Regions from separate parts of the Homo sapiens genome. Here all the other regions are linked to region 1. Evidence: promoter capture Hi-C in 16 types of primary human blood cells and fetal thymus (Javierre and others, 2016). All regions are on one chromosome and are shown on one strand. The core of a region is centred on a gene start or on the middle of the fragment in contact, and the rest is flanking DNA. Distances in the headings are between cores, read along the strand shown.

Region 1 (4,980 bases), core at 792-3,291:
CTGGCTCAGAAGAAGTCTTTACTAAGGATTCATCTTCAAATCTGGGGATCAGCATTACCATTTTTATTAAAACTACATTTAGTAAAAACTGTTCACAAATGTTTATCATAAGAAGAATTTTAGAAACTCATTTTTGAGACCGGGCACAGTGGCTGACGCCTGTAATGCCAGCACTTTGGGAGGCCGAGGTGGGTGGATCACCTGAGCTCAGGAGTTCGAGACCAGCCTGGCCAACATGGAGAAACCCCGTCTCTACTAAAAATACAAAAAATTAGCTGGGCATGGTGGCGAGTGCCTGTAATCCCAGCTACTCCGGAGGCTGAGGCAGGAGAATCGCTTGAACCCAGGAGGTGGAGGTTGTAGCGAGCTGAGATCGCACCACTGCACTCCAGCCTGGGCAACAGAGTGAGACTCTTGTCTCAAAAAACAACAACAACAACAACAAAAATCCATTTTTAAGGTTCCCATAAAAATGGGTGAAAGTGGAATTTAAGATCATAAAATCTAATTTTCATGCACAAATACAAACATTCGCCAGACCATCTTTACTGTACCATATGACCATTTACTCGGTCAAAAGGAAATCCACTCATCTCCCTGGATCCCCCGAAGGCTATGCAAGGGGTCCACTGTGCTTCCAGAGTACAGAGGATGCTTAAAGTAACAGATTCCTCAAACTGTGTTGTGGGAAGTTTAAGCGGCAAATGATTAATAAAAGTAATCAATGTCAATGTAGTTTGAATGCTTACAATGATCCTACTACGAGCGGAAACCATTTCCTCATTTCTTTCTTCTCGTTATGAAAATGAGCTCCCCCCACGGGGTTGCCTTGGGCCACCTCCCTTCCTAGGGCGTATTTGCTTATTTGTTTATTTGAGACGGAGTCTCACTCTATCGCCCAGACTAGAGTGCAGTGGCATGATCTGGGTTCACTGCAACCTCCGCCTCCTGGGTTCAAGCGATTCTCCTGCCTCAGCTTCCCAAGTAGCTGGGATTACAGGCATGTGCCACCACGCCCGGCTAATTTTGTATTTTTAGTAGAGATGGGGTTTCACCATGTTGGCCAGGCTGGTCTTGAACTCCTGACCTCAGGTGATCCACCCGACTCAGCCTCCCAAAGTGCTGGGATTACAGGCATGAGCCACCGCGCCCGACCCCTCATGCTTCTTTCTACCCATTCTCAAAATTCTTCAGTGAGGTCCTCCAGGACCAGGAAGGTGCTCTACGGACTTGGGAGGGTGCACTTAATAGGCTAGTTACTGAATCGTGGCCGTTTCCCACTTTGCATCTCCGGCAGCTTGACCCCTACTCCAGGGCCAACTTTTCCCAAAAGCCCAGGCCAGGTGCAGCCTGAACGTGGCTTTCCTCCGCCCCTGACTCTGCTTCCCTGTAAGAGCTGAAAAACATGCACGGCTGTCACTCTAGAAATAATTAGAGAAGTTGCTGATTGTCGAGGGCAGAAGGAGCTGAACGGCTTCCACCTCAGCGCGTTCCCCTTGGTGCTGACTCGCTCGGGAAAGGGGAGTCCTCGGTGCCCTCGCTAAGTAACCCTGGGATGCTGAGGGGCGTTGCCAGGCCCCTGGTCAACAAGAGGGCTCAGCCCCACGCAAGAGGTGAGCCGGGAGCGGATGACACCTGCCCAGGTGACTAGGGACCAGGCCTCCGGCTCAAGGAGCGCATCAGGAGCTGGGGCCAAGGCCGGGGTCTCCTCCCCTTGCCAGCAAGGATGAGAGCACCTGCCATCTGGCCGGCACCCTCCCCTGGGCCCGAGGCTCCTGCCCTCGGAGGGGCGAGACGGGGGAGCTCCGTGGACTCTGCAATTCATGAGACTTCCACGAGGAACAAAGGTCTCCGTGCCGGCCTCGGGTCCCGGTCTCGGCGCCCTGACTACCCCGGGGCCCAGGGCGCGGCGCCCCGGCAGGCACGGAGCCAGAGAGCGGGCGGAGGGCGCGGAGGAGACGGTGGTACCTGTGGGTGGAGACGGCAGGCATCCCTGTCCCCGCTGGGCTGCTGCCTGCCCGGCCGCGGTCCCGGCTGCTGCAGCATCACCCGGGGCGGGGCGCTGACGTCACGGCCGCAGCCTCCGCATCCGCGCGGGGCCCGGAGCCTTAAAGCGGCGCCGCGTCTGGGGCCCCGCGGGCGGGAGGGGAGCCCGGTGTCCTCCTGGGCCCTTCCCGCGGGAGGCCCGTCCCGGTGCTTCGCGCACGACGGCGCGGTCTGCAGGATCTGCCAGGATCCCGGAGGAAAACGTCCCCCCGGCCTCACAGTTCTCACCGTTTTCTTCTGATTTTAAAAGAAATAAATACATTTTCGTGTCTTCATGTATAAATAGATACCCATGTGTTCGCGGATACGTGAATGCCGCAGTGCGTGTGCCAAGCCTGTGCCCATGTGCGCAGTGGGGCAGCCGGGCCTGCTGGAGGCGTCGCGACTCTGGGCCCGGAGCTGTCCAAGGCACTGGGGATGCCGCAAGAACAAGGCAAAGTTCCCGCCCCTGGGGGAACTTTGTAATGTAAGTAAATACATAAATACTTTATGTATTTATTATTTACTTCATTTTTTAAAATACAGAGAGGCAGGGCCTTGCTATGTTGCCCAGGCTGGTCTCGACTCCTGGGCTCAAGTGATCCTTCTGCCTCGGCCTCCCAAAGTACAGGTGTGAGCCACCGCACCCGGCTGCATGACATTTAAGAGAGAGACACACACACATTAAACAAGACATAAAATAAATGGTATGTCAGAAGATGGCAATGCCCTAGAGAAGGGGTTAGGGAGTGTGGGGCTGCAGAGGCGCTGGCCTTGCAGGTTTCTATCAGGTTGTTGGCGAGTCCTCACCTGGAAGGTGACACTAGAAGGAGGATTTGCGGAGCAGGCCGGGCACGGTGGCTCACACCTGTAATCCCTGCGCTCTGGGAGGCCGAGAGGGGCAGATCACCTGAGGTCTGGAGTTCGAGACCAGCCTGGCCAACATGGCAAAACCCCCATCTCTACTAAAAATATAAAAATTAGCCACACGTGGTGCTGGGTGCCTGTAATCTCAGCTACTCAGCTGAGGCAGGAGAATCGCTTGAACCTGGGAGGCAGGGGTTGCAGTGAGCTGAGATCGTGCCACTGCACTCCAGCCTGGGCCACAGAGTGAGACTCCATCTCAAAAAGAAAAGAAGGACCTGAGGAGCTAGGGGGGCCAGCCAGACTGACGTGTGGGGAAGGTCACGCCAGGCACTGGGAAGAGCAAGTGCAAAGGCCAGGGGCAGAAGTGAGCTGGGCTGAGTCCAATAATTACGGATGAAATAATTATGCAGCTGGTAGTGGAATAATAACCCCAGGGAAGCGCTGCAGAGTGGGGGCACGGGGCCCTGTGGAAGTTTACCGCGGCGGATTCCACCCCATTGGGAGGGTCGAGGGCTCCTCAAGGAGCCCTACCAGGCCAAGTAGAGAGAACAGCATGTCCCACACAGAGGGCTCAGAGAGCTCTGCACTGGCAGAGCTCCGGAGGGGAGAGGGCCTGGAGGCACACTGCAAAGGAAGTGGAGGGGGACAGGGATGCAGAGGCCTGGGAAGGAGGTGAGGGCTGGGGAGGTGGGACAGGCCCAGGTGTGGCCTCTTAGGCAGTTGCCAGTTTCTAAGAGCAAAGAGAAGCCTAGAAAGGTTTTATGTAGGGGAGTGGATGGCATGAATCCTATTCACAGTTAGCAAAGATCATAAAGCTCAGAGTGAAAACAGATTGGAGGGAACCAGGGGACCACATGGGCGTACCGGGTGGCACAGGTGGGAGAGTTGGGGGTGTTGGTAGAGGGAGAGAGGTGATGGACTGGCCGGGGACTTAGGACTCCATGATTGACTGAAGGTGGGGGGGTACAGGAACAGCGAGGGTGGTGCTAAGAAGTTTCTAGCTTGAGCGATGAGGGAAGAGAGTGGATTCATGGAGGCCAAAGCAGGTGTGTGCTGGAGTGAATGCCATAGGTTTGCTTTGGGATATGCTGAGCTTGAGGGCCTTCGCAGCCTCTAGGCCACCAGACACTTGGGTCTGGAGCTCAAAGATGCTCCTTTATGAGTCCCCTGCACATGGGAGCTAATTGCAGGTGAACTGTGGACCTCGCACTGCCAGGGAGAGGCGCAGGGCAGAGGGCCCCAGAGGACACCATGGGAATTTCAACAGATCCTGCCCAGGCTGAAGAGAAGGAGCCACTGGAGGGGGCTGGTTCTGGCTTCTTTTATCTCTATAACAGGGTAACAGCTTGAAAAAAATACCGATGTCCTTTTCTATTTTGCATGCAAGTGGCCTGCCATCAACTGATGAGCTTCAGCACCTCAGGGACTTAATGCAATAGAAGCTTACTTCCACATGAGGTTGGCAGAAGTGTGCCTGATGGGTGGGGACCTCTGTGAAGCCATTCAGGGATCCCGGTTGCCTCCATCTTGCTCTGCCCTGGTGCACTGAGGGAGGAGCCCAGGTGGTGCCTGCCCACGGGGCCAGGTGTGCAGGAGGCCCACGTTCCACTCGAATCCCATTGGCTAGGACCCTGCCACACAGCCACACCGGCCACACCCAACCCACAACAGGGCTGAGAGATGGGGCCCCTGTCCCCAGGAGAGGAGGAGATGGGGGTGGGGAGTTGCTGGCTTCAACTGCTTCTGTAACTTTTAGCTGCTTGCAGAGGGGAGAGAAGATGGGGAATGCTGAGAAAACTTAAAGATCATCTCGAGGTTCTGATGTTCACAACGGGATTTTGCAACAAGAGAAGAGGTTTGAAATCTAAGCATTGTTGAGAAAGAAAGGGATTTTGAAAATTCCTTTGACCTTTTTTAAACTTCCAAAGTGAGAACCTTCTAAGGCTAGAGCTTTTGCTTTTTAGCCCCTCCAAGTTCAGGGCAGAGAGCAGTGTTTCTCCCTGGGGGCAGACAAGATTTCTCCTGTCTCGACAATAGGTCTAGACTGGGGGCCAGAGTGGAAGGGGCTGACAGAACATGCAGGAAAGA
Region 2 (4,980 bases), core at 744-3,243, 210 kb after region 1:
GAGTAGCTGGGACTACAGGAACCCGCCACCACGCCTGGCTAATTTTTTGTATTTTTAGTAGAGACGGGGTTTCACCATGTTAGCCAGGTTGGGTCTTGATCTCCTGACCTCGTGATCTGCCCACCTCGGCCTCACAGAGTGCTGGCATTACAGGCGTGAGCCACTGTGCCTGGCCGAGAGAGAATGTTTTTAACGTTTTACCATAAAGTTTGAGGTTTGCTGTAGTTTTGTTTGTTTTTAAAAATGGTCTTCATTACGTGAAGGATATTCTCTTCTACTTATAGTCGATTAAGTTTTTTAAATTATGGATGAATGTTAAATTTTATAATTTGCTTTTCTACATTGATTAAGACAATCACATGGTTTTTCTCCTTTAATCGACTACTGGTACAGATTACAATCGATTTTCCTGGAATAAACTTTATCTTTCTCATATAGGCATACTATGGAGATATTTTGGGTTGCATTCCAGACCACCTCAATAAAGCAAATATTAAAGTGAGTCACACTAGTTTTTTGGTTTCTCAGTGTATATAAAAGTTTTATTTAAACTATACTGTAGTCTATAAGTGTGCAATAGCATTATGTCTAAAAAATGTACATACCTTAATTAAAAATAAGGCCAGGCATGGTGGCTCACACCTGTAATCCCAGCACTTTGGGATGCCGAGGCGGGTGGATCACCTGAGGTCAGGAGTTCAAGACCAGCCTGGCCAACATGGTGAAATTCCATCTCTACTAAAAATACAAAAATTAGCCGAGTGTGGTACTCAAGCCTGTAGTCCCAGCTACTTGGGAGGTTGAAGCAGGAGGATTGCTTGAATCCGGGAGGCAGAAGGTGCAGTGAGCCAAGATCATGCCACTGCACTCCAGCCTGGGCGATAGAGTGAGACTCCATCTCAAATAATAATAATAATAATTTATTGCTAAAAAACACTAACAGTCATCTGAGCCTTCAGTGAGTCACAATCTTTTTGTTGGCAGAGGGTCTTGCCTCTATGTTGATGGCTGCTGGCTGATCACCATGGTGGTTGCTGAAGGTTGGCATGGCTGTGGCAATTTCTCAAAATGACAATGAAGTTTTTTGCATTGATTAGGACTCTTCCTTTCACGAAAGATTTCTTCGTAGTGTGTGATGCTATATGATAGCATTTTACCCACAGAACTTCTTTCAAAATTGGAGTCAATCCTTTCAAACCTGCTGCTGTTTTATCAGCTAAGTTTAAATAATATTCTAAATCCTCTGTTGTCATTTCAACAGTATTCACAGTATCTTCACCAGAAGTAAATTCCATCTCAAGAAACCACTTTCTTTGCTCATCCACAAGAAGCAACTCTTCATCATTCAAGTTTGATCATGAGATTGTAGCAGTTCAGCCACATCTTCAGGCTCCGCTTCTAATTCGAGTTCTCTTGCTATTTCCACCACATCTGCAGTTACTTCCTCCACTGAAGCCTTGAATGCCTCAAAGTCATTCCAAGGGTTGGAATCCACTTCTTTCAAACTCCTGTTAATGTGGATATTTTGACCTCCTCCCATGAATCACAAACATTTTTAATGGCATCTAGAATGGTAAATATTTTCCAGAAGGTTTTCAATTTACTTTGCCCAGATCCATCAGAGGAATCACTATCTATGTGCAGCCATAGCCTTACAAAACGAATTTCTTACGTAATAAGATTTGAAAGTCAAAATTACTGTATCCATGGGCTGCAGAATGAATGTTGTGTTAGCAAGCATGAAAACAGCATTCATTTCCTTGTACATCTCCAGCAGAGCTCTTGAGTAACCAGGTACATTGTCAATGAGCAGTAATATTGTGAAAGGAATCTTTTTCTCCTGAATAGTAGGTCTCAACAGTGAGCTTAAAATATTTGGTAAGCCATGCTGTAAACAGATGTGTTGTCATCCAAGCTTTGTTGTTTCATTTATAAAGCACAGGCAGAGTAGATTTAGCTTAAGGCTTAAGGGCCATGGGATTTTTGGAATGGCCAAGGAGCACAGACTTCAATCTAAAGTCAACAGCTGTATTCGCTCCTAACAAGAGTTGGCCTGTCCTTTGAAGCTTTGAAGCCAGGTATCGACTTCTCCTCTCTGTCTATGAAAATCCTGGATGACATCGTCTTCCGATAGAAGGCTGTTTCATCTACACTGAAAATCTGTTGTTCAGTGGAGCCACCTTTATCAAGGATCTTAGCTGGATCTTCTGGATAACCTGCGGCAGCTTCCCCATCAGCACTTGCTGCCTCACCTTTGGCTTTTATGCTATGGAGATGGCTTCATTCCTTAGACCTCATGAACCAGCCTCTGCTGGCTTCGAATGTTTCCTCTGCAGCTTTCTCATCTCTCTCAGACTTCACAGGATTGAAAAGAGTTAGGCCGGGCATGGTGGCTCACGCCTGTAATCCCAGCCCTTTGGGAAGCCGAGGTGGGTGGATCACCTGAGGTCAGGGATTCGAGACCAGCCTGGCCAACATGGTGAAACCCCATCTCTACTAAAAATACAAAAATTAGCTGGGTGTGGTGGGGCGCCCCTGTAATCCCAGCTACTCGGGAGGCTGAGAGAGGAGAATCGTGTGAACCCGGAAGGCAGAGGTTGCAGTGAGCCGAGATCACACCACTGCACTCCAGCTTGGGCGACAGAGCAAGCCTCTCTCTCAAAAGAAAAAAAAAAGAGTTAGGGCCCTGCTCTGGATTAGGCATCGGTTTAAGGGAGTGTTGTGCCTGGTTTGATCTTCTATCCAGACCACTAGAACTTTCTCCATATCAGCAATAAGGCTGTTTTGCTTTCTTATCATTCATGTGTTCACTGGAGCGGCACTTGGAATTTCCTTCAGGAGACTTTCCTTTGCACTCACAGTTTGGCTAACTGTTTGGCAGAAGAGACTCAGCTTTTGACCTGTCTCAGCTTTCAATATGCATTCCTCACTAAGCATAATCACTTTCAGCACTTGATCTAAAATATTAGGTTGGTTTGGTGCAAAGGTAATTGCGGGTTTTGCCATTGAAAGTAATAGCAAAACCGGCAACTACCTTTGCACCAACATAGAGATATGCAACTCTTCCTATCACTTGAACACTTAGAATTCATTGTAGGGTTATTAATTGGCATAATTTCAATATTCTTGTGTCTCAGGGAATAGGGGGCCCAAGGAGAGGGAAAGAGACGGGAGGGATGGCCGATCAGTGGAGCAGTCAGAACATTTACCGATCAAGTTTGCGGTCTTATGTGGGCACAGTTCATGATGCCCCAAAACAATCACAACAGCAACATCAAGGACCATTGATCACAGATCACCATAACAGATACAATACATATTAAAAAGTTTGAAGTAGTGTGAGAATTAGCAAAGTGTGACACAGAGACATGAAGTGAGCACACCCCGTTGGAAAATGGTACCAAGAGACATGCTCAACGCAGGGTTGCCACAAAACTTTAATTTGTAGAAAGTATAGCATCAGTGAAGTGCAAGAGAGTGAACCACAATAAAACAGGGTGGGCCTGCACCTTCCTTGATTCTGCTGGCAAATATGTTGCTTAGGATTTTTACAGCTATGTTCGTGAGTGAAATTGATCAGGAATTCTCCTTTCTTGTACCATTCTTGCCTGCTTTTTTAGTTTTGTGCTTATACAAATTGATTTGGGTCTCAATTCATTAGGGAGTCTTTTCTTCATTCCTGTGACTTGGAAGAGTGTGCGATACTGAGATTATTACTTCTTTGAACAGTTGGTAAACTTACCTGTAGAAATACCTGGGCTCGATAGTTCCTTGAGGAGAGATTTTATTGTCTGTTTCAATTTCTTTGTTATTTTTTTTAGAAACAGGGTCTTGCTCAGTTGCCCAGGTTGGATTGCAGTGGCACAATCACAGCTCACTGCAGCCTCGACCTCCCAGACTCAGGTGATCCTCCCACCTCAACCTCCTGAATAGCTGGGATTATAGGCACGTGCTACCGCCCCTGGCTAATTTTCGTATTTTTCGTAGAGATGGGCTTTCGCCATATTGTCCAGGTTGGTCTTGAACTCCTGGACTCAAGTGATCCTCCTTGGCCTCCCAAAGTGCAGGGATTACAGGCATGAGGCAAGGCACATGGCCTGTTTCAATTTCTTTAATGGGTTTAGAACCAGGCAGGTTTACTATTTCTTCCTGAGTCACTGTTGATAAGGTATCTTGCTCTGGTAACTTATCAGTGGATAGTCTTAAAGATGTTTACAGGGTCCTCTTATCATTTGGAGCTCTGCTGGGCCTGTATTTATGGGTCCTATTTCAGGCTTGACTTGGTCCTTCTCTCTTCTGGCCTTGATCAGTTTTGCTGAAGTGAGTGTTTCTTTTTTTGGTCTTTTCGAAGAACCCATTTTTCCTTATGAATCCTTTCTATTTCTTTGTTATCGATTTCACTGATTTCTGTTTTTATTTTGAGTATTCCCTTGTTTTTACTTTCTTCACATTCATTCCGAAGTCCTTAATCCAATTTGTTACACTGAATGCTTGGCTCACTAATTAACAGCAGCAGTTCCTTTCTAATATAAAGAAACATTTACGGCTAAAATTTTTACTCTAATTATTGCTTTAGCAAGATTCTTCCAGTTCTAATGTGTAATTATTTTTCTCATTCACTCTCAAATACTTCCTTGTTTCTATAATGATATTTTATTTTATATTACATTATTTAGAAACTTTTAAATTTCTAAAAGTATGGGGAATTTTAGGTACAATTTTGTTTTGTTTTGTTTTGTTTTTTGAGTCGGAGTATCTCTGTTGCCCAGGCTGGAGTGCAGTGGTGCGATCTCGGCTCACTGCAACCTCTGCCTTCCAGGTTCAAGCGATTCTCCTGCCTCAGCCTCCCGAGTAGCTGGGATTACAGGCACACACCACCATGCCCAGCTTTAAATGTCCCACTTCTTAATACTTTTGCATTGGAGATCAGGTTTCAACATAGGAATTTTGGGGGATGGGAGAGGCACAGACATTCAGACC
Region 3 (4,980 bases), core at 1,186-3,685, 160 kb after region 1:
CCCATTGCAAAATCCATATTGTCTTAAACACTTTTTAAACTTCCCAAACATAGCAAATTCCACTGGGAAAAGCCAGGGTGGGCTCTTTAAAGATGGAGTGAGGGCCCTTGGATTCTTCCCAGAGCTGCCTAAGATGCAGATTTCTCCAAGGAAATTTTTTCCTAGGATTAGGATCAGAAAAACGGAGTGGTTTCCCCTTTTCTAATACGTATTGTATTATGTAATTAACTGCTTTTCCACTTTTTACTCTGTTCTCCTTTTTTAAACTTATTATTATTTCAAAAACATTTCTAGTTTTCAATAAATATATATGCATCTTTTCAAATTTCTGACTGTATATATAGCCTACAGCTTTCCTTTAAAAAAAATCTTCTTCCAAGATATAGTACAAAGAAATGGCTTCCTTCTTCATCTAAGAAAAGATTTTCGAAATCTAGATCTCAAAGAGCAAAAAGATCATCACATTCATTTTTATTTTTAGATAAAAATGCAATATATATTTTCACTTCTGACAACAGAATTATCTAGGATTTCACATGAACTTAGGTTTCATAAGATGTCACTTGTGTTTATCCGCTGCGCTTTGCCCGGGGCTGTCTGCCTTAAGATAGAGTGAGCTGCTCCAATAATAACTCCCTGAACACCTGAACACTGAGTCCATGGTGTAGACAGTCCTGTGAGCGCTACCTTAGCTGCCGCGGAGGCGCCGGCAAAAGCAGCTGCTCATCCGTCATTCCTGACAGCTCAGACCACGAGCTGCCTGGAGAGGCTCATGAACAAGTTCTTTGTCTTCAGGGGATGAAGAAAGTCCAGGCGTTTGTTTACTCTAGAGCTACCGGTCAGAAAGGGGTTTCAGCCTCGGAGTCTGCAACCTTTGTATAAAAGAACACAAAGTCAGTGATGGAAAATTAAGCTCTTTAGAAGGCTGATTTGGCTGGGCGCGGTGGCTTACACCTGTAAATCTGGCACTTTGGGAGACTGAGGCAGGAGGATCACTTGGGCCCAGGAGTTTGAGACCAGCCTGAGCAACATGGCAAAGCCCTGTCTCCACAAAAAATAAAAAATAAAAAATAAAAAAATAGCGGGGCAATGGTGTTGGGCACCTATAGTCCCAGCTACTCGGGAGGCTGAGGCAGGAGAATTGCTTGAGTCCAGGAGGTTGATGCTGCAGTAGTGAGCCATGATCGCACCACTGCACTCCAGCCCAGGGAATTGTGTGAGACTCTGTCTAAAAAAAAAAGGAAAGAAAAAGAAAAAAGAAGGCTGATTAATTAGCCTTAAACTCAGCTAAACTAGCGTCATCTTTACCACCCCTTAGCTGCAAAAAATGTTTCAAACCAAATGGCCCCCAGTGAGTGCACTCCTCAACCAGGCAAATAAAGGCACCCACCCACCCATCAGCCCAGGCCACAGAGCGCAAAGGCCGGGGACTTAGCAGCAGGAATCTGCTGGCACAACTGTCGCCATGGGCCTCTATCCGCTCTGGACACCCAGCACCTAGGCCAAGGCCAAGTGTTACAAGATTTGCCTTTTCCACTGAAGTGCAGAACGCTTTCCTGGTGGTTGTTTTGGGTGGCGGGGGGAGGGTGTTGAGAGGGTCAGGGGATCAGAATTTCCTGGTCCTTTTAACTATAAAAGATCTATAATGTTGTACATGTCTCTCTGCTTCTAGTTCAGCTAGCGTCATGCGAAATGGGGCTTTCTGCGTGACTGCACAAAAACCAGCAAGTCCAAACAGGAGGTGTCTTCCCAAGAGGTAGGCAGGTTGTGTGAGCAGGAGGGCCACCGTGAGAGGTGAATCCAGCTGGGCTTCTGGGTCAGGTGGGGGGACTTGGATAACTTTTCTGTCTAGCTAAAGGATTGTAAACACACCAATCAGAGCTCTGCGTCTGGCTAAAGGTTTGTAAACACACCAATCAGCACTCTGTAAAAACGCACCAGTCAGCGCTCTGTGTCTAGCTAAAGGTTTGTAAATGCACCAATCAGCACTCAGTAAAAACGGACCAATCAGCACTCTGTAAAATGGACCAATCAGTGCTCTGAAAAGTGGACCAATCAGCAGGATGTGGGTGGGACCAAATAAGGGAATAAAAGCTGGCCACCTGAGCCAGCAGCGGTAATCTCCGCCAGTCGTCTTCTAACTGTGGAAGTTTTGTTCTTTTGTTCTTAGCAATAAATTTTACTGCTGCTCAGTCTTTGGGTTTGTGCTACCTTTGTGAGATTAACAGTCACCATGAAGGTCTGCAGCTTCAGTCCTGAAGCCAGCAAGACCACGAATCCACCAGGAGGAACAGAGAACTCCACACACACCACCTTTAAGAGTTGTAACACTCACTGCAAAGGTCTGTGGCTTCACTCATGAAGTCAGTGAGACCACAAACCTACCAGAAGGAAGAAACTCTGAACACATCTCAACATCTGAAGGAACAAACTTCAGACACACCATCTTTAGAACTGTACCACTCACTGTGAGGGTCCGCGGCTTCATTTTTGAAGTCAGCGAGACCAAGAACCAACCAGAAGGAACCAATTCTGGGCACAACTGGGCTCCCGGTTTGTGGACAGCCATGTCATCTCCTCCTTTGGGGTAGTGTCCCCAACATGATGATCCATGCCCCTGATTTGGCCTGACGCAGGGCAGTAATTGTGCACTAGTAGCGGGGTCAGGTATATCAATTAACCGACATCAATGCGAGTCCTAGAGCCAGCTCTGGTGTTTACTAGCCATGTACCCATGAGCAAACCATTGACGTTTGTCGGAGCCTCTTCAACTGTAAAAAAGAGACTCCCTGACTTCAAAGTCCCCTCAATTCTAACGTGTGGTTTCATGGTTTCCTTTGCTAATGTACGAAAAAGAACAAGATGATTATATCTTAAAGTTATAAAATCTATCATAATAAGCACACTACTTATGCAGTGATCTTTGAAAGCAGCCCTTTTTTTTTTTTTTTGAGATGGAGTCTTGCTCTGTCGCCCAGGCTGGAGTGCAGTGGGGTGATCTCGGCTCACTGCAACCTCCACCTTCCGAGTTCAAGTGATTCTCCTGCCTCAGCCTCCAGAGTAGCTGGAGTTAAAGGCACGTGCCACCATGCCTGGCTAATTTTTTTGTATTTTCAGTAGAAACGGGGTCTCACCATGTTGGCCAGGCTGGTCTCGAACACCTGATCTCAAGCCATCCTCCTTCCTTGGCCTCCCAAAATGCTTGGATTACAGGCATAAGCCACCACGCCTAGTCGGAAAGCAGCCCTTTAAGGGAAAAATGAACAAGTCAGGAGTATAGAAGCAGACAAAACACATCTGGCGCAGCCCTGACTCAGCTTTAAAGTTGAGGGGCAAATAGATATTCCTAAAATGAAACCGTAAGCACTGATCCTGAAGAAAGATATCTGCGTCCTCCAATCTGTGTGCAGCACAGAACCATCCTGATGAGCTACAATGTAGCAGCATCAGGCCTTCTTGGGTTTTTAAAACCTGGATTGATACGAAATGGTAATGTGTAGAACTTCTAGTGACAGCCCAGTCGGGCTCATCACCCATTATGCTATTTCTCCATGAGGAATAAAAACTAGCCAAACGCAGTGGCTCACACCTATAATCCCAGCACTTTAGGAGGCCAAGGCAGGAGGATGGATCGCTTGAGCTCAGGAGTTCAAAACCAGCTGGGCAGCATGGTGAAACCCCATCCCTACAAAAAAATACAAAAATTAGCCGGGTGTTGTGGTGGGTGCTACTCAGGCGTGTGAGGTGGAAAGATCGCTTGAGCCTGGGAGGCAGAGATTGCAGTGAGAGGAGATTGTGCCACTGCACTCCAGCCTGGGGGACAGAAAGAGACCCTGTCTCTGAAACAAACAACAGCAACAAACTGGGACAAATTCATCTCAGAGTTGGCCTGTCTCTCCCGGAAAACAGGTCTGTTTTCTTTCCGTAGACAATGTGCCCTATGTAACTCATCCCTCCTTTGATCAGCTCCTCAGAGAATTCAGAATAAAGGTCTGTTTTCACCTCAGTACTTTCACCTAACAAGTTCCTGACTTAAATTGCACTTGTCACTTCATTCTTATTTTAATGTTTTTTCGGTTTTACGAAGGTACTGATTTTTTAAATGGATCTTTTTATTTGGTTGAGCAGTTTTAGGTTTACAGGAACATGGAGCAGAAAACGCAGAGCTCCCGTGTGCCCTTCCTCTCCCCATAGACACTTTCTCCTGCTAGTAACATCTTTTTTTCTTTCTTTTTTTTTTTTGACAGAGTCTCACTCTGTCATCTAGGCTGGAGTGCAGTGGCGTGACCTCAGCTCACCGCAACCTCTGCCTCCCGGGTTCAAGCAATTCTCCTGCCTCAGTCTCCCAGGTAGCTGGGACTACAGGTGCACACCACCAAACCCGGCTAATTTTTGTATTTTTAGTAGAGAGGGGGTTTCACCATGTTGGCCAGGCTGGTCTCCAACTCCTCACCTCAAGTGATCCGCCAACCTCAGCCTCCCAAAGTGCTGGGATTACAGGCATGAGCCACCGCACCCACTTTCATCTTAAATGAAGGTGTACACTCGTTACATTTGCTGAGCCTATACCGATTCCTTACAACTAAGCCCATCATTTACATGAGGATTCTCTCATTGTATTACACATTCTATGGGTTTGATAAATGTATAATGACATGGATCCACCATTATAGTGTTGTACCGAATAATAGTTTCACTGCCCTAAAACTCGCGTGCTCCATCTGGTCATCTCTCCCCTCTCCCTTACTCCCCAGTTCCTGGCAACCACCAATCTTTTTTGCTGTCTTTATCATTTTGCTTTTTCCAGAGTGTCATGTAGTTGAAATCATCCAGGGTATAGCCTTTTCAGACTGGCTCATTCACCTAGCAATATGTTTCGGCTTCCTCCATGTTTTTTTTTGTGGCTTGATAGCTCATTTCTTTTCTTTTTTTTCTTTTTTTTTTTTTTTTCAGTTTTTTTTTGAAAACAGAAACAGGTCC

What was found. Contacts are between HindIII fragments. The CHiCAGO score rates a contact against its expected background, and 5 or more counts as called.
Region 2: a fragment that was not itself captured here is called in contact with the fragment with the promoter of SLC45A1 in region 1 in 9 of 17 cell types (total CD8 T cells, total CD4 T cells, naive CD4 T cells and 6 more); the score reaches 10.1 in total CD8 T cells.
Region 3: a contact is called between a fragment that was not itself captured here and the fragment with the promoter of SLC45A1 in region 1, in 5 of 17 cell types (total CD8 T cells, naive CD4 T cells, naive CD8 T cells and 2 more). The highest score is 8.7, in total CD8 T cells.

The regions. Positions count from the first base shown.
Region 1 is chr1:8,315,175-8,320,154 of GRCh38, reverse strand. It overlaps SLC45A1 (solute carrier family 45 member 1), which reads right to left and starts at 2,041. Exons shown (of 9, transcript NM_001080397.3): 1 at 1,969-2,041. RefSeq lists a silencer at 1,932-2,211. The HindIII fragment of the contact is 5,366 bases long and covers 1-4,336 here.
Region 2 is chr1:8,107,287-8,112,266 of GRCh38, reverse strand. The region is part of intron 2 of ERRFI1-DT (ERRFI1 divergent transcript); the gene reads right to left. Among named protein-coding and RNA genes, the nearest start is that of ERRFI1-DT, 83 kb to the right of the region's middle. The HindIII fragment of the contact is 151 bases long and covers 1,918-2,068 here.
Region 3 is chr1:8,150,621-8,155,600 of GRCh38, reverse strand. No RefSeq gene overlaps it. Among named protein-coding and RNA genes, the nearest start is that of LINC01714, 56 kb to the left of the region's middle. The HindIII fragment of the contact is 7,766 bases long and covers 1-4,980 here.